Regions from separate parts of the Homo sapiens genome. Here all the other regions are linked to region 6. The links are contacts of gene promoters, found by promoter capture Hi-C in blood cells and fetal thymus (Javierre and others, 2016). All regions are on one chromosome and are shown on one strand. The core of a region is centred on a gene start or on the middle of the fragment in contact, and the rest is flanking DNA. Distances in the headings are between cores, read along the strand shown. Region 1 has its middle 54 kb from the start of GOLPH3. Region 2 overlaps PDZD2 (PDZ domain containing 2). Region 3 overlaps PDZD2 (PDZ domain containing 2). Region 4 overlaps PDZD2 (PDZ domain containing 2). Region 5 overlaps PDZD2 (PDZ domain containing 2). Region 6 holds the start of PDZD2 (PDZ domain containing 2).

The links. The method cuts DNA at HindIII sites, captures the fragments that hold promoters and counts their contacts. A CHiCAGO score of 5 or more calls a contact.
Region 1: a contact is called between a fragment that was not itself captured here and the fragment with the promoter of PDZD2 in region 6, in 5 of 17 cell types (total CD4 T cells, erythroblasts, naive CD4 T cells and 2 more). The highest score is 6.6, in total CD4 T cells.
Region 2: a contact is called between a fragment that was not itself captured here and the fragment with the promoter of PDZD2 in region 6, in 1 of 17 cell types (M2 macrophages). The highest score is 5.3, in M2 macrophages.
Region 3: a contact is called between a fragment that was not itself captured here and the fragment with the promoter of PDZD2 in region 6, in 11 of 17 cell types (M1 macrophages, M2 macrophages, megakaryocytes and 8 more). The highest score is 7.2, in M1 macrophages.
Region 4: a contact is called between a fragment that was not itself captured here and the fragment with the promoter of PDZD2 in region 6, in 1 of 17 cell types (total CD4 T cells). The highest score is 5.7, in total CD4 T cells.
Region 5: a contact is called between a fragment that was not itself captured here and the fragment with the promoter of PDZD2 in region 6, in 3 of 17 cell types (total CD8 T cells, naive B cells and total B cells). The highest score is 6.4, in total CD8 T cells.

What each region holds. Positions count from the first base shown.
Region 1 is chr5:32,117,974-32,122,250 of GRCh38, reverse strand. No RefSeq gene overlaps it. Among named protein-coding and RNA genes, the nearest start is that of GOLPH3, 54 kb to the left of the region's middle. The HindIII fragment of the contact is 1,072 bases long and covers 1,025-2,096 here.
Region 2 is chr5:31,907,458-31,912,071 of GRCh38, reverse strand. All of the region lies in intron 2 of PDZD2 (PDZ domain containing 2), which reads right to left. It also overlaps the pseudogene TPT1P5. Among named protein-coding and RNA genes, the nearest start is that of MIR4279, 26 kb to the left of the region's middle. The HindIII fragment of the contact is 4,461 bases long and covers 664-4,614 here.
Region 3 is chr5:32,061,211-32,065,773 of GRCh38, reverse strand. All of the region lies in intron 14 of PDZD2 (PDZ domain containing 2), which reads right to left. Among named protein-coding and RNA genes, the nearest start is that of GOLPH3, 110 kb to the left of the region's middle. The HindIII fragment of the contact is 7,208 bases long and covers 1-4,563 here.
Region 4 is chr5:32,031,331-32,036,201 of GRCh38, reverse strand. All of the region lies in intron 6 of PDZD2 (PDZ domain containing 2), which reads right to left. Among named protein-coding and RNA genes, the nearest start is that of MIR4279, 98 kb to the right of the region's middle. The HindIII fragment of the contact is 3,645 bases long and covers 450-4,094 here.
Region 5 is chr5:32,005,330-32,010,132 of GRCh38, reverse strand. The region is part of intron 5 of PDZD2 (PDZ domain containing 2); the gene reads right to left. Among named protein-coding and RNA genes, the nearest start is that of MIR4279, 72 kb to the right of the region's middle. The HindIII fragment of the contact is 6,764 bases long and covers 1-4,803 here.
Region 6 is chr5:31,637,246-31,641,802 of GRCh38, reverse strand. PDZD2 (PDZ domain containing 2) reads right to left here and starts at 2,672. Exons shown (of 25, transcript NM_178140.4): 1 at 2,366-2,672. RefSeq lists a silencer at 2,369-2,718. The HindIII fragment of the contact is 6,072 bases long and covers 1-4,557 here.

The DNA of each region.
Region 1 (4,277 bases), core at 311-2,810, 480 kb before region 6:
CATTAGTTAGATTAGGTGCACAATAGGGTTCGAGTTCCTATGAGAATCTAATGTGGCTGCTGATCTGACAGGAGGTGGAGCTCAGGTGGTATTGCTCGCTTGCCTGCTGCTCACCTTCTGCTGTGTGGCTTGGTTCTTAACAGACCACCATTACTGGTCCGTGGCCTGGGGGTTGGGGACCCCTCTGTGGAGGATATCATCACTCCTAGTCTATGTTCATTATTGAGGGGTTATCATTTACTGCCTTTTGGTAATTTGTATTTTTCCTGTGAATTACCTGTTCGTGTTCTTTATTCATTTTTCTGAAGGGCATTGATCTTTTTATGTACTGATTCACGAGGACTTAAGCCTATGATGCAGTTGTTTTCCCAGTCTTGGGAGCTGGCAGATGGTAAGTTTTGCTTTTGCTTTCTTTAACATTCAGAAAAGTGTAAGGTGCAGTGCTTGAGCATGCAATTTGTGGAGATCCTTCTTCTAAAGAGATGTCTGGTGGTCAGATTTGATATATATTAACTTTGGGAGGGTATGATCAAATTTAAAAATGGAAAAAGTCGAAATGTCTAGGTTAAGAATATGTATATAAGCATTTCATTAAAAGTTTTTATGATTAAAATATAAATGGAAAATCTCAAATATTTACATTAATTAATTTAAGGCACCCATGTTTACAGCCATTACCCAGGTCAGGAGATAGAACCTTGCCAGCTATACCCTGAAGCTGTTCAAGTCTTTCTCCCAATTACAGTCTTCATAAGAGTAAGTACTGTCCTGACCCAGTGTGAATCTTTAATTGTATTGTTTTGTTTCATTTGATATGTCTTTTAAGTTTTTTTTGAATCTGTAGGTTCTTCCCCCATCTCTCTCTTGTTTTTCCTTTGCAAAATATTTGTTGATGAAATTGGATCATTTGTCCTGCAGAGTTTTCCAAGGTTTGGATTTTGTTGATGGTTTCCACAAGGTGTGATTTAAGGTGTTTGACTTCTACACTGCATTTCCCAAGAATTGGTAATTGGCTCTAGAAGCTTAGATTCAGGTTTGTTTGTGTAGGCAACACTAATCAGTGGTGGTGTATGCTTCCACCAGGAGGCACATAATGTCTCATATTTTCCTTTTGTGATGTTAGCAGCCTTGCTTTTCAATTCTTATTTATTGGGGTTGCAATGTGATATTTTAATAATTCTTTTTTTTTTTTTTTTTTTGAGATGGAATCTCGCTCTGTTGCCCAGGCTGGAGTGCAGTGGCCCGATCTCAGCTCACTGCAAGCTCTGCCTCCCTGCCTCCCAGATTCACGCCATTCTCCTGCCTCAGCCTCCCGAGTAGCTGGGACTACAGGTGCCTGCCACCATGCCCGGCTAATTTTTTGGTATTTTTAGTAGAGATGGGGTTTCACCATGTTAGGATGGTCTCGATCTCCTGACCTTGTGATCTGCCCGCCTCGGCCTCCCAAAATGCTGGGATTACTGGGATTACAGGCGTGAGCCACCGCACCCGGCAATTATTTCTTTTTCTTTTTTTTTTGAGTCAGAGTCTCACTGTGTCGCCCAGATTGGAGTGCAGTGGCGTGATCTCTGGCTCAATACAACCTCCGCCTCCTGGGTTCAAGCAATTCTTATGCCTCAGCCTCCCGAGTAGCTGGGATTACGGGCGCCTGCCACCATGCCCGGTTATTTTTCTATTTTTGTGTTTTTAGTAGAGACAGGGTTTCACCATATTGGCCAGGCTGGTCTCAAACTCCTGACCTTGTGATCCTCCTGCCTCAGCCTCCCAAAGTGCTGGGATTACAGGCTTGAGCCACGGCGCCTGGCCCTCATTATTATTTTTTTTTTTTAGCTAGAATATTTCTATAAAGAGACGTGTTATCTACATTACGTTTTACTATAATTCATAGAGGGAAGGTAGAATAATTCTTACAGTTTATTTACCTATTTTCAAAATACAGCTGATTCCATGGCACCCTCCAAAAATAACTTTAATTTTTAAAGTATTATGAACTTATGGAAACACATTCTGTTTAAATTGACAAATAATAATTGTGTATATTTATGGGTATAATGTAATGTTTTAGTCTTTGTACACATTGGAGATTCAGTCAAGCTTATTAAAATAACCATCACCTTACCAACTTATATTTTTGTGGTAAGAATACTAAAAATAGTCCTTTTTAGCAATTTTGAAACACAATACATTATTAACTGTTGTCACCATGCAATGCAATAGATCACTAAAACTTGATTCCTCTAGTCTGAGACTTTGTATCCTTTGAACAACGTTTGTTTCCCTATCTCTCCCCTTCCCGTCAGTTTCTAGTAACCATTTTTCTACTCTTTTTCTATGAGATTGGCTTTTTTAGATTACACATATAAGCGAGATCTTTTTTTTTTTGTCTTTTTTGTGCCTTATTTCACTTAGTGTAATGGAATAATCATTCTTTTATGTGTTTTGGTCTACAGTTATTAGCCCTATTAATGCTCAAAATGCCCTATCTTTGGCCAGTGGAACTCTCTTCAAGGATCTGGAGTCCTTTTGATAGTTTTAGTAGTCTTTGATAACTTCCTGGTATGGCTCAGATGTTTCAGGTTCATTTTGTATATTTCCTACCCTGTATCTGGAATCATCTATTTTTCCAACAAGCCATGTTTCTTTTAGCATGAAATGGTACTTCGAGACCGTAATTTGGGCTTTCAGAATACTTGTTACTACTGCCTTGGTCATTGCTTCTGGGGGAAAATCTTATGTGTGTTTGTGTGGTGTATGTATGTGTTTATGAAAAGTACCTCACAGAGTTTCAGTGCGGGAAGTTAAAGTGGCAGGGATGGGGCTGGGTGTGGTGGCTTACGCCTGTAATCCCAGCACTTTGGGAGGCCGAGGTGAGTGGATCACCTCAGGTCAGGAGTTCAAGACCAGCCTGACCAACGTGGTAAAACCCCATCTCTACTGAAAATACAAAAATTAGCCGGGTGTGGTGGTGGGTGCCTGTAATTCCAGCTACTTGGAAGGCTGAGGCAGGAGAATTGCTAGAACCCGGGAGGTGGAGGTTGCAGTGAGCTGACATTGCACCATTGCGCTCTAGCCTGGGTGACAGGGCAAGACTCCGTCTCAAAAAACAAACAAAAAGTTGCAGGGATGGATGGTGGTGATTACACAATGTCAGTAGACTTAATGTCACTGAACTGTGTACTTAAAAAATGGTTAAGATGGGCCGTGCGCAGTGGCTCATGCCTGTAATCCCAGCACTTTGAGAGGTTGAGGCGGGTGGATCACAAAGTCAGCAGTTCAAGACCAGCCTGGCCAAGATGGTGAAACCCCGTCTCTACTAAAAATACAAAAATTAGCTGGGCATGGTGGCGGGTGCCTGTAATCCCAGCTACTCGGGAGGCTGAGGCAGAGAATTGCTTGAACCTGGGAGGCAGAGGTTGCAGTGAGCCGAGATTGCGCCACTGCACTCCAGCCTGGGTGACAGAGCAAGACTATCTTAAAAAAAAAAAAAGTTAAGATGGTAAACTCCATGTATATTTTGCCACAATAAAAAATGAAAAATAAAGTGCCTTATGATTTTACATTGACAATTCAGATGGAAATGTATTTATTTATTTTTTTGAGAACAAGATCTCACTCTGTTGCCCAGGCTAGAGTGCAGTGGCCTGATCATGGCTCGTTGCAGTCTCAAACTCCTGGGCTCAAGTGATCCTCCTGCCTCAGCCTCCCAAGTAGCTAGGACTACAAGCATGTGACACCATGCGTGGCTAATTTTTAAATTTTTTGTAGAGATTGAGTCTCACTATATTGCCCAGGCTGTTCTTGAACTCCTGGCCTCAAGTGATCCTCCTGTCTTAGCTTCCCAAAGTGCCGGGATTTTAGGTGTGAGCCACCCCACTCAACCCTCAGATTCAAATTTACAATTTATAGGGTTTTTCTGTCTTCTACTTTTCTATATCAAGAATGATGGAAATTACTGACAATAAAATATCACATAGTTATTCATTTGCTTCCACATAAGACATTCTCAAAATAATAGTATTAGCACTATACCAACAATTTGATTACTTAAAAATGAGTTTTTAATAAGACTTTTTTATATGCTTGCTCCGTTCACCTCCGCCACCACCCTTTTTGTAGTTGGGCTACATCTACATTGTAAGAACATGTAGTCATTATATACTTTAATCTTTTCCTTTTAACCCTTCCTTTAGTCTCAGCTCTTCAGGTAAATACCTATTTAGTGCTCATCACCATTCCCAGTGTCACTGCCTGGCCATCATTTTGATTGCCTTGCTCAT
Region 2 (4,614 bases), core at 1,645-4,144, 270 kb before region 6:
AGCCAAGGCTGGGGCTGGGGCTGGGGCCGGGGCCAGGGTGGATTAAGTACGGCAGACACTGTAGACTGATTCACTCAATCCCCATTTAGCAGAAAATGTGAAACAACCATACCCCATTGCAGCCAGAGTTGCAGGCGTGTGAGCTTATTTCTACCAATCAGAAGCATCCCAGTATAACCTGGATGCAGTGTGAGTGACAGAGGCGGCAAGGGTCACCCATTGTGATCCAGGCCTTCTGAGGAGCATGGCAGAAGAGAAGCGCAGTCCTGGCATTCATCCCCTCAGCTCCTGGGGACTCAGCAGCCAGCGGAGGCAGCATGATTTTTCTGCTAGAACAGACTCATGGTATGGTTTGGCTCTTTTCCTGGCTCCATCACATCCAAGCCTGATTCTTGGTTCTTCCCAGAACTTCTGTGAACCACCTAACCAACAACCGTTAACACATCCCTTTCTGCTTAAACTAGCTACAGGAATTTCTGTTGTTTGCAGCCAGAAGTCCTGCCAGACTCGGCAAGAAAACAGAGAAACGAAAGGAAGCGGGAAGGACTGTAGGAGTCAGCTGACAGGGGCGATGCAGTGGCCACGTGCTCCAAGTCAGGGGCTTCTGAACCCAGTTCTGTATGCCCAGTGAAGCCACATGGTGGCATCCACAGAACAGAAGCTTTAGCGATGGCTCCACAAAGGGTGAGTCTCAACTCTACTGCCCCAGGCTCTGTATTGTGCTGGACAAGTTTCTCATATTATCTGAGCCTGAATTGATTCATCTACAAAACTAGAACAATGCTACTTTCCTTATAGAGTTTCAGAGAAAATAGGTAATATGTCAACAGCCTAGTACAGTGCCTAGTGACCAGCAGTTGTTTCAGAAATAGTGTAACTATCCCATCAAATCATCACAAATTGATTTGGCTTACATACCATACATGTCAAAATATAAGGTTATATTTTCTCTTCTCTAACATTATTATAAAAGAGGAAGTTGTTACATATTTGAGTCTGTACAAATTATATTATGAACCTCTTTCAATTATATTAATTTGGATGACAAATTACTATTGGGAGAAGACACAATTATCTCATATCAATGGGAATTTTAGATGCTTAAACAGAACTGGTTTAAAATAAAGGGGGGAAATCAATTTAATATTAAATTTAAAAATTATGCCTAGGGGAGATAATCTCACCATTTTAAGTGCTATATTTTCTTGTAGCAGAGTAGCATGGCGGTTAAAAGCAGGAACTGGCTGGGCGTGGTGGCTCATGCCTGTAATCCCGGCACTTTGGGAGCCTGAGGCAGATGGATAGCTTGAGGTCAGGAGTTCGAGACCAGCCTGGCCAACATGGTGAAACCCTGTCTCTACTAAAAATACAAAAAAAAAAAGGCTGGGTGTGGTAGCTCATGCTTGTAATCCCAACACTTTGGGAGGCCGAGGTGGGTGAATCACGAGGTCAGGAGTCCGAGACTAGCCTGGCCAACATGGTGAAACCCCATCTCTACTAAAAATACAAAAAAATTAGTTTGGGGTAGTGGTGAGTGCCTGTAATCCCAGTTACTCAGGAGGCTGAGGCAAGAGAATCGCTTGAACCCAGGAGGCGGAATTTGCGCAACTGCACTCCAGCCCAGTTGACAGAGTGAGACTCTGTCTCAAAAAAAAAAAAAAGAAAGGAAAAGAAAAAATAAAAATTAGCCAGGCATGGTGGTGGGGCATCTGTAATCCCAGATGCTTGGGAGGCTGAGTCATGAGAATCGCTTGAACCTAGGAGGCAGAGGTTGCAGTGAGGCCAGGTCACACCATTGTACTCCAGCCTGGGCGACAGAGCAAGACTAAGTCTCCAAAAAAAAAAAAAAAAAAATGCAGGAACTCTGGAGCTCCACAGCTGGGTTTGAATCTTGACTCTGCCTTTCATGAACTATGTGACTTTGAGCGCATAGGTAAGTTATTTGACCTTTCTGAACCTTAGTTCCCTGAATAAAGTGAGATAAGGTATCAATCTCACAGATTTCTCTGCATAAACGAGTTAATACATGTAAGGCACCGATGACAGTATTTGGCACGTAGTAAACGCATCCATAAACGTAAGCTATTTTCAATTATAGGATGAAGGGATGAAGGTATGGAGGAACTGTGGCAGGGTTATATGAATACTTGTGGTCTTGGATAAAATGTCCAGTGACAGCACCGTACATGAATATAAATATTACAGTCTTTCAAATAATAAAGATGGAACGCAATACACCCTTAAAACTGACTCAGCTGACTCAAAATTTGGCTCTGATTATTTGAATAAATTTGCTTCATAAACTATATGAGTGGGAAAAGGAATATTCAAAATTAATGTCATTTAAATTTTAAATGTGATTTTAATTATATATGTGAATATTAGAGCTATACATGACTATTTCATGTATATCACTGTATTATTAGTAGTAAACTGAATTGTTATCCTTTTAGTATACTAAATATAGTATTTCGTGTATATTAATGTTGGCCAAAAACCTTTTTGTAGCTCTTGTTTATTATGTATGGGGTTTATATTCTACTGTATGCGGTAAAAGAAAATGTTCTTCTCTTTTTTTAATCAGCGTAGAAAATTCAAACTGTTATCAAAAAGCATCTTAACCACATGTCCCTGCTCCCCAAATTAATGCCCTTATGATCTCTTTTGCTTAGATTTGTTGAGTTTAAATGCATTTTATTTTTAGACAAACTACATGACGTGCTTTTCTTAAAACAATGCCTCCATTCCAAATAAAGCATGGTCGAAATAAATGAAGAGCTCAAGATGACATCATTCCCATTTTCTTAAGTCCTGTTGTTGTGTGGATGACAAGCTGCAGTCAGTTACGATGACAGGTGATACATCCAAAGCAACTGCCAAATTTGTTAACATTTTCCCATTTCTAAATCATCCTCAAAGAAAATCACATATGGAGTCACACCATCCTTCCAGTAGTCCAGTAAAGCAACCATGCCACCTGGATTCATGGTTTCCCCAATACAGAAAGAACTGGTAGCTTTTTGTTTGTTTTGAGACAGAGTCTTGCTCTGTTACCCAGGCTGGAGTGCAGTAATCTCAGCTCATTGCAGCCTCCGCCTCCCGGGTTCAGCAATTCTCCCACCTCAGCCTCCCAAGTAGCTGGGATTACAGGTGTGCACCAACCACAGCCAGCTAATTTTCTGTATTTTTGGTAGGGACAGGGTCTCACTATGTTGCCAAGGCTGGTCTCAAACTCCTGAGCTCAAGTGATCCTCCCGCCTCAGCCTCCCAAAGTGCTGGGATTATAGGCGTGAGCCACCACGCCCGGCCAGAACTGGTCGTTTTTGAAATTACTAAGGATGTGCTTGACATGATTGCAAGGGGCTCTGCAGCCCCTGTCATAAAAGGTTTTACTCTTTCTGGTCTCTGTTCTTCAAGTTTGTCTTTGATATCACGTAACCTTTGATGTATTTCTTGTAGGCTTCTCTGGTGAAGCTAGTTTCCTGAAAGTGATGGTTCATGACAGTATCAACACCAGCCATTACTGTGCTTTCCGTGCCCTCGCCCTCGGGGCCTTCAGCGGAGGCATTTCCACCAATGAGCGAGTCATCAGTGTTACCCTCTCTCCTACAGACCATCTTCGCCTCCACTTCCACGCACAGCCAGTCTGAGATCTCCCGGATCTCGTGAACACACCTGATCATGGCTGACAAGGTCCCAGTAGATAATCATGATGGCGGCCGATGGCAGCTAAAGGGAGACGACCAGTGGCGCTGCCTTCTAGGAGCCCGGAGCTTGGAGCTGCGCTCATGGGGAGCGGGGGCGGGGCCTTGCTTAAATTTCAAACAAAAAAAGGATCAAACCAAAAATAAAAGAAAATAGAGGGAAATGTAGACTATCTTTGTGCATTTTAAATATACATAAAATCTCCAACATGGATAAAGATGTTATTCGATTCTATTTACTACCTGATCCTTTTCTTTCTTTTTTTTTTTTTTTTTTTTTTTTTTGAGACGGAGCCTGGCTCTGTCACCCAGGCTAGAGTGCAATGGCAGGATCTCGGCTCACTGAAGCCTCCGCCTCCCGGGTTCAAGCAATTCTCCTGCCTCGGCCTCCTGAGTAGCTGGGATTACAGGCATCCACCACCATGCCTGGCTAATTTTTGTATTTTTAGTAAAGACGGGGTTTCACCATATTGGCCAGGCTGGTCTCGAACTCCTGACTTCGTAATCTGCCCGCCTCAGCCTCCCACAGTGCTGGGATTACAGGCATAAGCCACCGGGCCCAGCCACCTGATCCTTTTCTTATGCCTTCATTTAATTGGGAGATCCTTTTCTTATGCCTTCACGTAACTGGGAGTGGGGGGTGGGGATTAAGGAATAAAATCCAACTAAAATAGCAAGACTTTCTTCATAAGGCATGAAACATTAAACATATAAAATATTGTATTTCACAGTGTCCTCTCTCATCTGTATTTCATGGGAAATAGATGGATGAATTCAGCCTGATAATCCACTACATGTAGCTATTAGTGGGTCTCTTGAAGGAAAGGCACAATAACCCAGATGGGTGTATTAACCAGAGCTTTTATGTCATTTATGACTAATACTATGAACTGTGTCCCCTCTCAAAATA
Region 3 (4,563 bases), core at 254-2,753, 430 kb before region 6:
GGATTACAGGCGTGAGCCACAGAGCCCGGCCTGGTTTTATATTATTTATTCAAAAAACTCTGGATGCAAGACCTTTCTGAGGATGCATATAGGGAACACAATCTGAAGAAAAGCAGAGTTGCCTTTGCATTAGTCTAACGGCAATTTTGTCCCAGCACTGTTGTTGACATCACATCCCCAGATCAAGACATAGAGCCATAGCTTGATAGCACTAATTTATCCTGGGGAGGACAAGGACCACAAATGAACATCACTGAGTGTCTAAATTGATGCCACCAAGAAATCTCGGATATGGCACATAGAGGGACCCACAAGGTCTCTTGGCATAGACTTCTTACTCTTAAAGTGGTGTACCAGTCCATCAAGCACAGTAGCCTGGGAACATTTAGGATGTAATTAAGCAACACTACAAGGAATACCAAGGTATGCCCATATGACAGGCATGGGTAAGAAGTATTTTTTTTGTTTGTTTTTTGAGACAAAGTCTCGCTGTGTGGCCCAGGCTGGAGTGCAGTGGCACAATCTTGGCTCACTGCAACCTCCACCTCGCAGGTACAAGTGATTTCTCCTTCCTCAGCACTGGAGTAGCTAGGATTACAGGTATGCACCACTACACTGGCTAATTTTTGTATTATTGGTAGATACAGGGTTTTGCCATGTTGGCCAGGCTGGTCTCGAACTCCTGACCTCAAGTGATCTGCCCACCTCGGCCTCCTAAAGTGCTAGGATTACAGGCATGAGCCACTGCACCCGGCCAAGAGGTAATATTCTTAATGAACACTTTGATTTTATTTCTTTACTTTTTTGAGACAAAGTCTTGCTCTGTCACCCAGGCTGGTGTGCAGTGGCACGATCCTGGCTCACTGCAACCTCCATCTCCTGGGTTCAAGTGATTCTCGTGCCACAGCCTCCTGAGTACCTGGGATTACAGGCAGCCGCCAGCACACCCGGCTAATTTTTGTATTTTTAGTAGAGACGTGGTTTTGCTATGTTGGCCAGGCTGGTCTCAAACTCCTGACCTCAAGTGATCCACCCACCTTGGCCTCCCAAAGTGCTAGGACTACAGATGTGAGCGACCGCACCCGCCCTTAGTGAACATTTTGAGTTGCTGAAAGGAAAAGCTAAATTTTCTTAAATACAACTTAACCACAACATTAGAGGTAAGCTAATTTAAAAAGACTTTTACAACAAGCGCTCAAAAGAATAAAAAATAGTGTTAAAAGTGGATTGAGGCCGGGCGTGGTGGCTCATGCTAGTAATCCCAGCACTTTGGGAGGCCAAGGCAGGTGGATCACTTGAGGTTAGGAGTTCGAGACCAGCCTAGCCAACATGGTGAAACCCCATCTCTACTAAAAATACAAAAGATTAGTTGAGCGTGGCAGCGCCCGCCTATAATCCCAGCTACTCGGGAGGCTGAGGCAGGAGAATCACTTGAACCTGGGAGGCAGAGGTTGCTGTGAGCTGAGACTGCACCACTGCACTCCAGCCTGGGCAACTGAGAGAGACTTTGTCTCAAAAAAGAGAAAAAAAAAAAAGTGAATTGAGTTGGTTCCTTCTTTTCCTCTGTGCGTCCAAAAACAAACAAAAAAAAATTGGGTTGAGTTGAGCTTGCTGAAGTGTCCTATGGTTAGCTTCAAAAAGTTAAAGGCAACTGTACAAGTATAGAAGAGATATAACCAAATAACAGCCAAGTCCAACAATGTAGGGACCATGATTATCTGCAACTTCCGTATGGGTCCAAGAGTGTGACGCTGATGCTGAGAAAAAAATTAGTGGGCTCTTAGGCCTTAATTACAGAAGTACTCTGCTCAGGTCAAGGTTGGCTTAGACAGAGGAGGAGCCACTCTTTAAATTGGGTCTTGTCTTTCATCAGTCTAACAACAGTAACATCCTCACACTCTAACAAAATGCTTAACATTCTTGGGGTCATGAATGACTGAGAATTTGATAGAAGCTATTGATTCCGTCCACAATTGCAAATCTATTCCCACATTTGTGTAGTTCGTAATGTCCTGGTAAAGGTCCCGTGAACTTCAGGTTCAGAGTAGGCTGCAAGTTTCTTGAGATACATTCTAATTAATTGTGTATCCCTGGTATGTTGGCACTGCCTGGCACCCAGTAGAAGCTCAATAAATGTTTAGGTAATGAATTTGATATAGGATGAGAATAGATGATCTGAATCGCCCTGGCTGGAGGGAGACAGGGAAGGATAGTCCGTCTGTTGATGCCTGGCAGCCTGCCTGCCTGCTTCACAACCTCCACACCCATCCCAATTCACCCCCAGGGCCTCCTTGGTGCCTCTGCCTCCTGTTCAATACCAGGTTCACATGGGCTGGTGGTACCCAGGCTAAGCAGCTAACATTAGACCTGAAGGATCTTCTCTCTTTCCTTCCAAGTAAAACTTGTAAGTAAGAAAGAGTCATTTAATAAATCATTCTCAGACCGGGCGTGGTGGCTCACATCTATAATCCCATCATCCAGTGGGAGGATCACTTGAGGTCAGGAGTTTGAGACCAGCCTGGCCAACATGGTGAAACCCCGTCTCTACTAAAAATGCAAAAATTAGCTGGGCATGGTGGCGCATGCCTGTAATCCCACCTACTCAGAAGGCTGAGGCGGGAGAATCACTTGAACCCAGGAGGCAGAGGTTGCAGTGAGCCGAGATCACGAAACTGCACCCCAGCCCGGGCTATAGAGCTAGACTCCGTCTCAAATAATAATAATAATAATAATAATAATAATAATATTTCATTCTCAACAGAAGACTATATGGGTATCTTTACAATGATAAAATGTAAGGAGCTGCAGTGACATACTATGTCCGTTGGCTCAAGGCCCCATGTGGTTCCTCTGGTCTCCCGTGGAGCCATCTGTATTAGATAAACCAAAGAAAGAACTCCCACTTTCAGAATGTGTCGTTAGAGGAACAAGCAAAACCAGTATTGGAAAATGTGAATGCACGTTAAATGTCATGGTCAGGAGAATTTCAATACATATTTATGCTGCTTAGGTAGATTACAGAACAATTGTGTGAGTAGTTAATGAAAAGGATCCTGGCATGAATTTAAAAATTTAGTCTTGGCCGGGCACGGTGGCTCGTGCCTATAATTCCAGCACTTTGGGAGGCCAAGGTGTGTGGATGCCTTGAGCTCAGGAGTTCGAGACCAGCCTGGGCAACATGGTGAAACCCCATCTCTACCAAAAATGTAAAAATTAGCCAGGTGTATTGGCACGCACCCATGGTCCCAGCTACTCTGGAGGCTGAGGTGGGAGGATCGCTGGAACCCGGGAAGTCGAGGTTGCAGTGAGCCATGATTGTGCCATTGCACTCCAGCCTGGGTGACAGAGGGAGACCCTGTCTCAAAAAAAAAAAAAAAAAATTTAGTCTTGAGGACTTGATCTATCAGAAAAATAGTATCCTTCATAATTTTGCATAAACTTAACAAATAACTTTTCCATTATAGTTTATTTGAAATGCTGGGCTTTATTTTTTCCCCAACTTTGATGGAAGCAAAATCTACAAAGTAACATTTGCAAATAAGCATTTGGTCTGCAAAGCCAGATTTCATCTTATTTTCATTTATTTGAATTTCAAGATAATCATTTGATAAGATAAACAGGTATTTTTCTGACTCAACAGTTAAATGAACATTAAGAAGGAAACATTCCTCCACAAATGTGAAGACATTTATTTGTCCTTTAAAAGTATCTAACGTGGGGCATGGTGGCTCACACCTTTAATCCCAGCCCGAAGTGGATTGATTGCTTGAGCCCAGGAGTTTGAGAATAGCCTGGGCAACACAGCAAGACCCCATCTCTATTTAAAAAAATATTTTTAAAGTAAACTGAAAAACTTTCTACTCTAGAAATTCTATGGAAACACAGAAACAATTTAAATTAATTAAGTATATTACCCAAGTTTAAGTTAAATTCTAAATAGTTTTCTTTCCAACTATTATGAACAATTTATTTTTATACTTATCTTGACACTTTCTCATTTCTTTTTATTTCTTATTTAAAAAAAATAAAGATGAAGTCTCACTATGTTGCCCAGGCTGGTTTCAAACTTCTGAGCTCAAGTGATCCTCCTGCTTCGGCCTCCCAAAGTGCTAGGATTACCAGTGTGAGTCATCAAGCCTGGCCCTCATTTCTTAATTGAACAAAGTTTAAAATTCACTGAAACTGTTTTAAAAATAAATTAATCATTCAACATTAAACTTAAAGATGAGAGAATTCCCAACATATGGCCCAACAAAAGATGTGGTAAGAAAAGCCTTCTTATCTTGAAACTGACAGGGTCATAGAGATCGTCCAGTCCAAGGCTTGCAGATTCTGTTGTTGCAAAAACCCAAAGAGGTTAAGTATCTCACCAGAGCTCAAAAAGCCAGTACTCAGAACACAGCATTCTTACCTCCCACCAGACAAGTTTCAAATTTACCAGATAACATTGTCAAAATGTTCTAGTAAGATTTTCTAAGACTGTGAAGACAAAGTCCAGATTAGAGATTCATTTCCCACATGAACCACCCGTAGGTTGCCTGCCTATCCCCAGCTGGGAAAACC
Region 4 (4,871 bases), core at 1,023-3,522, 390 kb before region 6:
GAGGTCAGGAGATCGAGACCATCCTGGCTAATGGCTAAAACAGTGAAACCCCGTCTCTACTAAAAATACAAAAAATTAGCCGGGTGTGAAATTAGCCGGGCATGGTGGCGGGTGCCTGTAGTCCCAGCTACTCGAGAGGCTGAGGCAGGAGAACTGATTGAACTCGTGAGGCAGACGTTGCAGTGAGCCGAGATCACGCTACTGCACTCCAGCCTGGGCGACAGAGCGAGACTCTGTCTCAAAACAAACAAACAAACAAAACAAAACAAAACAAAGGTTGATGATGAAAAGATTCCTGGCTTCTCTTAAAGATGCCATTCAGCCTGACAGTTGTCTGGAGTTCATGACTATGAAGTTAAACTCAACTGGCAGGAATCTTCCTCCCAATTGGGGTTGGGAGAAATCAACCTGGTCCTACTTAAAGTGCTTTTTGTATGTATTCAAAAGCTTCTTGATTTGCATTTTCTCTTACCAGTTATCAAAAGGTGATGTAATTATAGTGTCACTTCTCACCCTCAAATTAACAGGTAATGAAAATTATATGTTGTATATTAAATTCAGTATATAGCTGGGTACAGTGGCGGGTGCCTGTAGTCCCAGCTATTCAGGAGGGTGAGACAGGAGGATCACTTGAGCCCAGGAGGTCAACATCAGCAGCCTGGGCAACATCGCAAGACCCTTTCTTTCTCTTAAAAAAAAATTCACCTGAGGTCAGGAGTTCAAGACCAGCCTAGCCAACATGGTGAAACCCTGTCTTTACTAAAAATACAAAAACTAGCTGGGTGTGGTAGCACACACCTGTAATCCCAGCTACTTGGGAGGCTAAGGCTGGAGAATCACTTGAACCTGGGAGGCGCAGGTTGCAGTGAGCCGAGATCACGCCACTGCACTCCATCCTAGGTGACAGAGCTAGACTCCATCTCAAAAAAGAAAAAAAAAAATTCAATACATAAAAACGTATAAAGTAAGCAGTTAGAGTAATTACGTAGGTAATCTCTTTTAAGAAATAATTGTTTATATACAAATTCTGTATACAATATGTAAAGTTTGGAAGATTCCCTCTTCCTCCTCAAGTTCAAGTATCTTTCTGGGTTAGAAACAGGAATAAAAAGGTCTGAGAATGAGGAAACGTAGGCAAAATTGAGAAAGGGGCATTGAGAAAACAAATTAATTCTGACATACAAAACAAAGGTAATAAATCTGTTGCATTCATATTACCTTATCAGGAACTGGCAGGTGTTCAGGTTTAAATTGTGAAGAAAAAGCAGGAACAGAATCTTGAGGGTGATTTTAGAGATTCCCTGGAGGGATGTCTTTCCCAACCCCAAATCCTGACATCAATATGTACACAGAGAAGAAAGAGCCATCTCTGAGACATCCTGAGCTCTGGGCCACATACAAATGGAAGAATCTAGAGAAAAGCCTTAGAGCCTCCCCTTTGCTTGACTTAAAAACTTTATGCAAAGAACCTGTCTCCAGGTTCTTTCCATACTGTCTCCAGACTGTGAACAGCAATTACCAGAGAGTGAGTTAAATTCCTGGTTCCAGCTGGGCGTGATGGCTCACGTCTGTAATCACTTTGGGAAGCGGAGACGGGTGGATCACTTGAGGCCAGGAGTTCAAGACCAGCCCGGCCAACATGGTGAAACCCCACTTCTACAAAGAATACAAAAATTAGCTGTGCATAGTGGCACGTGCCTGTATAATCCCAGCTACTCTGAAGGCTAAGGCACAAGAATAGCTCGAGCCTGGGAGGCAGAGGTTCCAGCGAGCTGAGATTGCGCCACTGCACTCCAGCCTGGGTGACAGAGCGAGACTCTGTGTCAAAAAAAAAAAAAAAAAAAAAATTCCTGGTTCCTTCTGATAATACCACCTGACCCAGGCTATCGACCTTCAGAGTAAGGGATTCCCTGGCTTGTAAGACATTACCGCCTTTGGTGCCTACTAAATGGGTAGCTTATTACACAGTGGCCAAGGTCCCAAACGTTGGAAAGTCTGTCTGAGATGCTCATGCCGAGCAAGGAAAACCATGCCAGCCTATTGTTTCTGGACTTAGGAAGTTTTCTGCATCTGTCTTCTCCTTTATTTTCCCAACACAGCCCCAGGTTTTCATAGGATCAGAGACATTTTGGAGATGATACAAGCACTTCTGAGCACCTGAGAAGGAAAGGAGCCTGCCTGAAAGGTTTCTGGTCATGATAGACAGATTCAGTTTCTATGATCTACAAAATGCCAGTAGGTTTTTTATGTCAAAGAAATCTTATGCTAAAGATGGTATATGTGAGCCAGACGTGGTGGTTCACACCTGTAATCCCAGCACTCTGGAAGGCCGAGGTGGGCAGATTTCTTGAGGCCAGGAGTTCAAGACCAGCCTGGCCAACATGGCGAAACCCCATCTCTACTAAAATACAAAAATTAGCCGGGTGTGGTGGTGAGTGCCTGTAGTCCAAGCTACTTGGGAGGCTGAGGAAGGAGGATTGCTTGAAACCAGGAGGCAGAGGTTGCAGTGAGCCGAGATCGCGCCACTGCATTCCAGCCTGGGCAAAAGAGCGAGGCTCTGTCTCAAAAAAAAAAAAAAGAGAGATGGTGTATGTGGCTACCTAATGCCTGTAGCTAGAGCCAGTAAGAATGGACCTAGAGATATCTCAAAGAGTTGCAAGCAGAGAGCTCTTGCTGTTGAGCAAGGAAGGAGTGACATCTTATTTCAGAACCCACTGAAAGGGTTAGCAGTGGGGAATGAATTTAAATGGAACTGTTTCCTCTTATAACAAAAAACTGTTTTTTCGTTGAGTTTGTTGTGATATTAGACGACTTGTAACTCACTGAACAGGAAGTGGGTTGCTTAGACACATTCATTCCAGATTATGTCAGGAAGTAGCAATATAAAATGCAATTTTGATTACACTTTGACTATTGTCTGAAAATGTCCACACTCTAAGAGAGTCCCTTTTCTGTGTGTGGTTTTGTTCCCAATGCACAGAGCAAACTGTTCTGGAAATGATGTCATTTTAGCTGTTCTGAAACGAAATTTGCAAAATGTTCTCCTGGAAGGCCTTCAGTTCAGCGAAACAGTTGATAAAATCTATTATTCATGAGCAGTTTCTAATTCATGTGTTACAAAACAATGCCATTATTGCTTCTCGGCCTCTTGGCTAACATCAAGTGTAGTACAAAACAATCCCATTATATTAATGGAGTCTCATAGAATTTGCCAATTTCCATGGTAGAGCCTTCCTGTTTGCATCATTTTCCACACCTGTAACATACACAGCACTCAATGAAGAAGCATCTTTAGCATCTGATTTTGTAGAGAGGTAGTGGGGCAGAGTGGTTGAGAATCCGGCCAGCTACCTGGGCACAAATCCTGATTATACCATTTTACTGCAGTTTAGGCACGTCAGTCAACCTCTTTGAACGTCAGTGTCCTCATCTGAAAAATGGGCCTGCATTTGGGAATTAAATAACATAGGTTTCTGACTAAAGGTGGCAGATTTCTCCTGATTTCCCTTTGAAACCACACTAACATGACAGGGAAAATTTTTTTTAGGAAAAGACAGACATAATTTACAAGGATAAAGAAAACAGAAGACAAAAGCAACAAATTCTGGAAACCAGCAAGCTGACAACCACGTGGCAATGGATCTGACTTGAGAAAGCTGAATCCTAAGTGTGGACTGGAGAAGGCTGAACGTTCACACAGAGAACTCCCCCAAAGCTCAGAAGTTGCCAGAAGAGGACCTCTGGAAGTGGGCATGAAGGCGGAAGCAGTGGCCCAAGGAACGACCGAGAGAGTGAAAGTGACCGACGTGGCCACTGATTTACACAGGTCTGATTCCGAGGCAGATTCTCAGGGGCTGAGAATGGCCTAGGGAAACTTTGAGGTGCATCAGAATCAGCAGGAAAGCTAACAAAGAACACAGAGACCAGGCTCATGGAAGAGGAACAGGGCCTGGGCCTCTGGAATTCACCACTGCCCTGGGCCAACAGAACCAGCCTCCAGTGGAACTGGACACGGAACTAAGCTGCGACTTCCCAGTTCTTCCTGCTCTCCCCCACGTTTACTTCAGAAATGAAGAAGAGAAGAAATGAAAGCTTCTCAGCTGTACCTGAGTAGCCCACCAGCCAACAAATAAGGGTGACTGTCATGTTGCTCCCTATTCAGAGTATACATATTTTAATCAGTGATTTATGGAAACTTGTTCTGCTCAATGTATAAACTATAAGCACAGGAGGTGTATGCAGAGTATAATGCAATTTACATGTGCCATAGGCAGCAGCACGGATTGTGCCTGTAACATATTGATCATTGATATCCAAGGCAGTTTTTTCATTATGTGAAATAGGAACAATCGTATTTATGTTTAAAGAGTTAAAAATACCTTGCAATTGTCTTACAGGGTTATCATGAGGGTTAAAAAGAAATTCACTGTGGAGTACCTAATGTGTATCATAAGAATATAGGTAAGGTTTAGTCGAAATTAAAGAAATAAAAAGGCCCAAGCTTTCTCCCCCCAGGTCTCAGGGTGCCTCCAGATTTGATGATTACATAGACTGTAGCTCTAGACTGCAGAGATATACATTTCAACTTCATACCTATGGAAAGTGGCAGATTTCATTAAAGAATAAAGAGAAACCAATGGAGATCCAAAGACATGCCATCTTCTTTGAAGATGGGGAAAAAAGCCCTTTAATAAAATTACTGCAAAACTCACAGCTAAGAAGCCATTTTTAAAGGCATGTGCCTGAAATGCTCAGTTTTTAGAAATCAGGTTTGCGCACAAGAACAAGGAGGATTTGAAAACATGCTCTGGTCCCTGATCAGAATAGGCGTAGTGGAAAAGAGAAAATAAAGAAATACATGATGACTAACT
Region 5 (4,803 bases), core at 358-2,857, 370 kb before region 6:
GAATGTATGATTCTTAGCTGTTTCTTTTTTTTCTTTTTTCTTTTTTTTGAGACAGTCTTGCTCTGTTGCCCAGGCTGGAGTGCAGTGGCGTGATCTCGGCTCATTGCAACCTCCGCCTCCCGGGTTCAAGTGATTCTCCTGCATCAGCCTCCCAAGTAGCTGGGAATACAGGCATGAGCCACCACACCTGGCATTGTATTTTTAATAGAGATGGGGTTTCACCGTGTTGGTCAGGCTGGTCTCGAACTGCTGACCTCAAGTGATCTACCTGCCTCAGCCTCCCAAAATGCTGGGATTACAGGCGTGAGCCACCACACCCAGCCTTTAGCTCAGTGTTTCTATGGGCAATCCAAGCTCCCTGAATTTAAGATCCCTTTATAAAACAATCATTTTTTTTTTTAATAGACAAGGTCTCATTCTGTCACCCAGGCTGAGTGCAGTGGTGCAATCATAGCTCACTGCAACCTCAAACCTCTGGGCTCAAGTGGCCCTCCTGCCTCAGCCTCATGAGTAGCTGGAAGTACAGGGCATGCACCACCATGCCTGGCTAATTAAAATTTTTTATTTTGTAGACACAAGGTCTCACTATGTTGCCCAGGCTGGTCTCGAACTCCTGGGCTCAAGCCATTCTCCTGCTGTGGCTTCCCAAAGTGCTGGGATTACAGGAGTGAGTCACCGCACCTGGCCCAAGATCCTCTGCTGGCCTCCCCTGGACTGCTTTCAGGATGCTGTCTAAAGAGGTCAGCATCTTTTTTTTATTGATTTTTTAATTTTAATTTTTATTTTTTTGAGACAAGAGTCTCGCTCTGTTGCCCAGGCTGGAGTGCAGTGGCACAATCTCAGCTCACCACAACCTCCACCTCCCCAGTTCAAGCGATTCTCCCACCTCAACTCCCAAGTAGCTGAGACTACAGGCACACGCCACCATGCCTGGCTAATTTTTGTATTTTCAGTAGAGACGGGGTTTTCACTATGTTGGCCAGGCTGGTCTCGAACCCCTGACCTCGTGATCTGCCTGCCTTGGCTTCCCAAAGTGCTGAGATTACAGGCATGAGCCACCGAGCCCGGCTAGATCAGTATCTTTTAGAGCTGCTTCTGCCCCACTCTCCAAACTCATCCCCCTCCTCCTGTCTCCCCACCAACCCACTCTGATGCCATACTGCCTTCCAAACCCTTTGGACTCTTCCTTGCCCACTGCCTTTTCCGCCAGCAGCTCCCTCTGCTGGGACCACCCTTCCTTTCACGACTGAGGCCCACGCGGGCAAGGCTTGAACACCTCTCCTTCCGAAAGCCCACCTGGGTCATCTCAGGAGCCACTCCATTTGCCTCTCCTTTCTTCTCTAAAGTCTTTGACTACTGCTTTCATCCCCTTGCAGTGTGTCTACTTGTATATCTCCCCTGCGTGTCTGAGAATTGCTCCCACCTAACACCATTTCCATTCACTGCTGTGTCCCCAGGCCTAGCCCAGAGCTCACATATCCATGATCTCCTCCTTCCTGCTCCTGTGCTCATTTCCCTAGCATATGCTCATTAGAAAGAGATTCAACTGGCTGGGCGCAGTGGCTCATGCCTGTAATCCTAGCACTTGGGAGGCCGAGGCGGGTGGATCACCTGAGGTCAGGAGTTCAAGACCAGCCTGGCCAACATGGTGAAACCCCATCCGTCTCTACTAAAAATACAAAAATTAGCCAGGTGTGGTGGGCGGGCAACTGTAATCCCAGCTACTTGGGGGACTGAGGCACAAGAATCCCTCGAACCCGGAAGGCGGAAGTTGCAGTCAGCTGAGACTGTAGCCTGGGCAACAACAGCAAAACTCCATCTCCAAAAAAAAGAAAAAAAAAAAAAAAAGAAACAAAAGAGATTAGATTGTTGAATCAAAATGTCAGATAAGGTCTTTTTCAATGAAGGCAGTCCTTGAACAACTTTTAAAGGTCAACAAAAATACATGGAATAAGACTCCATTTATTTATTTATTTATTTATTTATTTATTTATTTTTATTATTTTATAGAGATGGGGTCTCGCTATGTTGACCAGGCTGGTCTCGAACTCCTGGCCTCAAGTAGTCCTCCCATCTCAGCCTCCCGAAGTGTTGGGATTACAGGCATGAGGGACCGCGCCCGGCCCAGACTCCATTTGGATAAGATTCTGAAGGGGCATCGCCAACACACAGCCCTTTGATCTTATGTACAGGTTAAGGCTAGAGTAGGCTGTAAGACGCAGGTGAGATCATGAAGGCCTTGCTGCAAATGCGGACCACACAGGAGCCAGAGCCCTCCGGGGAAATGCCGCAGCACATGAGGGCCAGGGGCCAGGGAGGGGGCTGGGGCTCTAGAGCGAATCCATGGCTCTAGAAAGAGAGCAAGAAGAGCTACCTGTTCTCTCAGTCCTTTGCGTTGGCCATTTCCACAAGGAAGGAAACACACAGAACGTCTTAATCATATTTAATCACATTGCGTGAGGGTTAACAGAAAAGAGGACCAAAAAATAAATGAATGAAACCCATCTTAAACAATGGATGTTACTGAATATTAGCAAGCTGGCATCTAGCGACAGTGATGTTTGTTACTAGTTTCACGTTGGTTCCACCTTCAAAGTACCTGAAGATAATTTGAATCAGTAATTGTGAATCCTATATTGTTAGGCCTTATCTAAGGAAAGGGAAAAAAAAGTGAGTTCAGTCCTCTTCTGTGATGTCAATTCTACTTCTGCTAGATTAACCGAAAAGAGTGTTTTTTTTTTTTTTTTAAATCCCAACTGTGAAGTAAAGGCATAGCAGATACAGGATAGACTACTCTGCGACCATTAAAGATGGTGCTGGGGCTGGGTGTAGTGGCTCATACCCGTAATCCCAGCACTTTGGGAGGCTGTGGCGGGTGGATCAGTTGAGGCCAAGAGGTTAAGACCAGCATGGCAGGCCGGGCGCGGTGGCTCAAGCCTGTAATCCCAGCACTTTGGGAGGCCAAAGCGGGTGGATCACGAGGTCAGGAGATTGAGACCATCCTAGCTAACACAGTGAAACCCCGTCTCTACTAAAAAATACAAAAAAAATTAGCCGGGCGTGGTGGCGGGCGCCTGTAGTCCCTGCTACTCAGGAGGCTGAGGCAGGAGAATGGCGTAAGCCTGGGAGGCGGAGCTTGTAGTGAGCTGAGATGGCGCCACTGCACTCCAGCCTGGGAGACAGAGCGAGACTCCGTCTCAAAAAAAAAAAAAAAAAAAAAAAAAAGACCAGCATGGCTAACATAGTGAAATCCCGTCTCTACTAAAAATATAAACATTAGCCAGATGCGGTGGCACGTGCCTATGGTCCCAGCCACTCAGGAGGCTGAGGCAGAAGAATAGCTTGAACCTAGGAGGCGGAGGTCGCAGTGAGCCAAGATTGTACCACCGCACTGCAGTCTGGGTGACAGAGCGAGACTCTGTCTCAGGAAAAAAAAAAAAAAAAAAAAAAAGGTGTTGAGCCTGGCAGTGGTTCATGCCTGTAATCCCATTACCTTGGGAGTCCTAGGTAGGCAGATCGCTTGAGGGCAGGAGTTTGAGACCAGCCTGAGCAACACAGAGAGAGATTGCCTCTACAAAAAATTGTTTAAATCTGTCTCAAACAAACGAACAGTAGCCATGTATGGTGGCACGTGTCTGTAGTCCCAGTTACTTGGGATGCTAAGATGGGAGGATCACTTGAGCCTCAGGTTTCAGGCTGCAGAGAGCTATATGATTACACCACTCAATTCCAGCCTGGGCAAAAATGCAAGTCCCTGTCTCAAAAAAAAAAAAAAAAAATTGTACTTCCTAACATGGAAAGATTCTTACAGTATGCTACTCAGTGAAAAAGCAGGTTAAAGTAATATGTAATAACTATATTAATAATGTATGTAATAATAAGCTAAAGGTAATAAACTGTGATAACCATAAGGCAAACATTTATCCAGTTCTTGCTATAACCAGCTACACTGCTCAGGGCCCTTGATATCTTTTTTTTTTTTTTTTGAAGTGGAGTCTCACTCTGTCACCCAGGCTGGAGTGCAGTGGCGCGATCTCAGCTCACTGCAACCTCTGCCTCCTGGGTTCAAGCGATTCTCCTGCCTCAGCCTCCCTAGTAGCTGGGATTACAGGTGCACGCCACCATGCCTGGCTAATTTTTGTGTTTTTAGTAGAGACAGGGTTTCACCATGTTGGGCAGGCTGGTCTCGAATCCTGACCTCAAGTGATCTGCCCACCTTGGCCTCCCAAATTGCTGGGATTACAGGTGTGAGCCACTGCACCTGCCCCCTTGATATCTCATTTAATTCTCCTAACATCATCCTCATAAGGTAGTTACTGATTCTCACTGTACAGGGAAGAAAATGGAGAATTAGGAGAGGTAACAACTTGGCCAGGACATGCAGCTTTTAAAGGGCTGTGCTCGATTTAAGTCCAGGTGGGACTGCCTCCAGGGTATATATGCCGTTTCCTTGTATTTGACTCCATTTTACAGAAAACATGTATGTACATGTTGCACACACATACAGATGTTCCCAGCTGGAAGGACACTCCAGTTAATGGATAGTAAGTACTATTGGTGGTATTATGAGAATTTCATCATCTTCTTCTTCTCTGTTTTTTTTTTTTGGGTTGTCTACATTTGATACAATACATATATATTACTTGTTAATAAAAACCAAGAGTGAAAAAAGCAAAAAAGCGAGCAAGAGATCTGTACTGATATATGTTGCTTCCAGGCATATCAAAACTAACTTGTATATTCTGAGTTTATTCATTCAATAAAAACTTCCTAAGCTCCTACTATAAGCAAATAATTTATTTG
Region 6 (4,557 bases), core at 1,423-3,922:
AGAACGAGGGGCCAGGTTGGGCGCAGTGACTCATGCCTCTAATTCCAGCACGTTGGGAGACCAAGACACCAGGATCACTTGAGCCCAGGAGTTCGAGACCAGCATAAGCAACATGGTGAAACCCATCTCCACAAAAAACACAAAAATTATCTGGTTGTGGTAACACACACCTGTGATCCCAGTTACTCAGGAGGCTGAGGTGGGAGGATTGCTTGAGTCTGGGCAACAATGAGACCCAGTCTCAAAAAAAAAAAATATCTCACACATCTCCCTACTATCTGGAGAACTAAGTTCCTCTGAGTCCTTAGTTCCTCTGAGTCCTTAGTTCCTCTGAGTCCTTAGCACTGAGTCCTAACTCAGGATCAACCTCTCGACTTCTACCTAAGAGCTCCTCCACAAAGCCTTTCAGATCCTCTCTGGCAAAAGTGACTTCTTTTTCCTCCATACTCCCAAAATGTTTTATTTGGACCACTCTTCAGGTACTTTACTCACTTAATTATCTCTTCACTCCTTCATCCAATAAACACATGGCGTCTACTACATGCAGCATGTGCACTGGTCTGCACCATAGTGCTTAGCAGGCTTCTCTCCCTTCTCCTGCTGGACAGAAACTGACAAACTGACAGCAGCGAGGGAGCATCTTTCATCTAAGCATATCCTGGAACCTCGAAGCCTCCTCAGCCTCCAGCACAGCAAACCACAGGTATTCCAAAAATAAAATGATTGAAATGAACAGAGAAATTATCATAAGTTTCCTTAAATAGTAAACTGCCATAAAGTACATGCAAAATCAATTTCAGCGATAGATTTAAAGTATAATTCAATATTTTTCCAGGAGCATATTAACTATGTCAAGGTAGGTACATTTATATACTTTACATGGTTCTGATTTTTCCTCTCCTAGCACCTGCCACCCCCCTACTCCTACACCTAACCCCCGCAACACACACACTCACTCACACAACTAGGTGGTTATTATAGGAGCAGAAGCTCTGGGCCCATCCTAATGGAAGAAGGAATTCATGAAGCCAGAACCACCACCTACAGCCAGGGGTGTGTTCTGAGACATTCTCTTCTGCCCCCACAAGCAGCACTCCCACTTCACACCTGCCAACCTGTACCTATCTGGCCACCACCCAGAAGTCACAACCCACAAAAGCTGGCCCAGTAGAGATGCCAGGCCCCTAAAGCCCTCCAGTGTTCAGAGACCCCACTGGAGAACAGGCCCTGAAGGTCCAGGGGGTCTCTCTGCAAGGACAGATCAGGGCATCACTTACTGCAGCCACTCAGCAACCACTTCCAGTAGTTTCATTGCGATTTGTCAAGGCAAACATATCCACCTACCCTACCTTTGGTGGAGGCAAGAGGTTAGGCCAGCTGCAGGGGACAGACTCAGACTCAGCTCCATCCCCCAACACTGCCCAACGGCCAGTCCCAGGGCAGGTCTGGAGCTCTGGAATGCCCTCGTGCCTGCCATTCCAGTCTCTGCGACCAGCCCATGCCAGACCTTGTCCTCTTCCCACTCCAGTGTCCCTTATCAAGGTCTCTGCATAGATTTGGGCTGCCGAGGACAGCTTCTGGCAAACTCCTGCCAGGGGTCCTGGACCCTCCTGCTGCTGAATTCAGCCTTGCGCTTTAATGGATTTTCCAAATAGCGGGGACCACAGGCAGCTCAAAGACTTAAAACACAAACGCAAACCCGAGGGAGGGAGAGAGGAACAGAGGGAGGGAGAAACCAGATTTTAGGAGAAACTCGACTTCAGAGAGAGAGCAGGATTTCCCTATCACTATGTTCCCCATCTCCCCGGCAGACGCCAATAACCGGCCCTAAGATGCCCTTGATCTTTGCGCGCCCCCTGCATTCCCTCGCCCCGCGTCTAACGTCTCATCTGGGCAAAGAGGCGGGGGTTGAGAGATGAAACAAGCCCGAGGGAGGATGGTCCCCAAGACATTACCTGAGGCCGGAGTACCTGAGTACCTCCACTCCTGTCGGAGGAAGGGACCAGAAGACGGCCCAGGGATGGGGACCCGGGATGCGCGCCCGAGCAGGAGGTCCCGGCCCTGTCTTGAGTACCCCCGGCAGTGCGTCTCCGGTTGTCCCGCTGTCTCGGTCCCGCTCTGTCTAGCCCCCTCCCCTGGGCTGCGCCCTCCCCGTCCCCGGCCGGATGCTAGAGGAGTTTGCGCCGCCCAACGTGGGACCCCGGTTCGGCGTCCTCACTCCCCGCCCTGCCAGGGCTGGGATTCCCGCACCCGGATTTGTAGCTAAACTTTCCTGGGCACACACGGTCTCGGGGGTGCCGGGCCTCCCCCATCCCCTGCCCACCCGGAGCCGCGCGTCCCGGCTGCAGCGGGACGGTCGCTTCACCTGCTCGCGGCTTGGCCGAGGCTCCCGCGGCTTCCTCGCGCGTCCAGACCCAGGCGCCGCCCGGCGGGTCCCCGCGCAGCTGCCGCCACCGCGGCCACCACCGGTGCCGCCGCCGCGCCTGCCCCGAGCTGCAGAGCCGCGGTTCGCCGGCAGCCGCGGGAGGCGCAATCCCGGTGCCTTGGGTTCGGCCTGCGGCTCCTCGGCTGCCTGCAGCCGCCGCCCCGCCGCGTCCCGCTGCCCGGGGCCGGCACGCACCGGCGCTGGGGTCCGCTCCTCGCCTCGCTGCGCAGGGGATCCGCCGAGCCTCCAGGATGGGCGGGGATTCCCTCCCCCTGGTTGATTCGAGGGGCGGGAACTCCCTTCCCCGAGTGACAGGGACGGGGGGCGGGGATTCCCCTGCAGGAATAACAAGGTGGGCGGGGATTTCCCCGAGCGAGCCCCGCCGCGGGCAAGGCGTCTCTCTGGGTGAGCCAGGAGTCCTGGTGCGCCCGCTTCAGAAACCTGGGGATCGTGGGAGGAAGGCATCCAGGGAGATGGCTGCTCCGAATCTCCATACAGGCGGGGCTTAGGGCGCCATCTAGGTGGAACAGAGCGAGCTAGGGGACGTGAAGTTGCCTCTGCATAGCACTTTACACAGCAAAGAGAAAAATGTCAGTTACCTTATCAAAGAATGGGGCGGAGGGGCCACAGGAGATGGGGGAAGAGCTAACCACTCACCCCAAGCTACCCTTAGCCTCTGGTCCTTGGGATACCAAAGGTAATTTAGCACTGGTACGAGGATTTCGGGGAGAGGGGACCTCTTGGCACCTCAGAGCTGCTTAATCCCCCAGTTAAGCCCCTGGGGGGGAATCCCATGGCCCTGGGGTGGTGGTTTTGGTCCCATGAGCACTAGCCACGAGCTCCTGCCGAGTGGACTGTGAGAGCTAATGCCAGCCGCCCTTGGCTCCCGTCCAGGTCACTCGAGGAACCGAGCCTCAGGCTTTTGGGATCCTTCATTCCGGTGGATTTTCAGGAAGGCCTTCAAATATTTTTGGTTCTTTTTTTGTCATCCTTGTCATTCTGCCTACCAAAGGGAGAGGATGATAAGAACATAATAGGAAGACTGCACAGCTCTGCAAATTAAGCTCTCTTAAGAGGAAAAAGCTGGTCTTTTTCAAGTGCTGGCAGATAAGAGTAAAAACATATGAAAAATTGCAAAACCTGGGATAATGAATAGTTGAATAATGCTTTTGACATTTTCTACAGAACAGTAATTGGAAATCTTTGCTTTCGGGGGGATGGGGATGGGACAGGGCAGGCCCCAGCTGCAGTTCTGCCCAGCAAGGCAATAAACTCTGGCCTCTCCGAAAAGCAGGCAGACATAAATCACCTGCGCAGACCGGACAGCGCTGTCCCACCACACCAGAGACCAGAGTGGGCCCAAGGCATTTGGAGGTGGTATTGTCCTCAGGGGCTGGGGTGGAGAAGTTCTTGATTTCAGCTGTTCTTCAGCTTTTATAATTACCAGGCCATTGAGATCAATGCTTGCACAAATCCAAGCATCGTATATGACAAGCTGGGCACTCAGGCACTCAGAGCTTCTCTTCCTATGTGTAAATAGAGAAAACACCTACCATGCAGGATTGCTGGAACTAGCAGTAACACAGCTATTCAGCACAGCACTTAGGAGGTGCTCAATGAAATGGTAACCATTATCAATGAAAGGTATCATTGGGACACTACAAAAAAATCCTTCTAGAAGGATCAAACAGGGCTGGTGCTTTCTGTTTTTTCCACAATCCCAGGCCCATCTTCCACCACTCTGTCCCGTGTTTTCTCAGCCTCTGTACCCAGCACATACCTTGGGCCTACCTCCCTCAGCACCAATGAAAAGTTTGCTGAATCAATGAATATGCAAATAAATGTATCACTCAAACTGTAGTCACTGCTATTTCTTATCCACTCCATCCCCAACTCTTTCATTCCAGCCATGTACTCCTAATCTGTAAATTCTGTTTCCTCTGCCAGAGTGACATTCTCACTCTCCTGTGTCTGCTGAAATCCCAAGGAGGTAAATGTCATCTCTACTGGAAAGGCTTCTCTGATCATCAGAACAAACATCACGTTTCCTCTGCCTTGTTAATTGCTGCAATGGTAGCACTTTATGCAAATTGCTCATCTAACCCTTGTCAGGTGTATTATGTTGTAGGAAT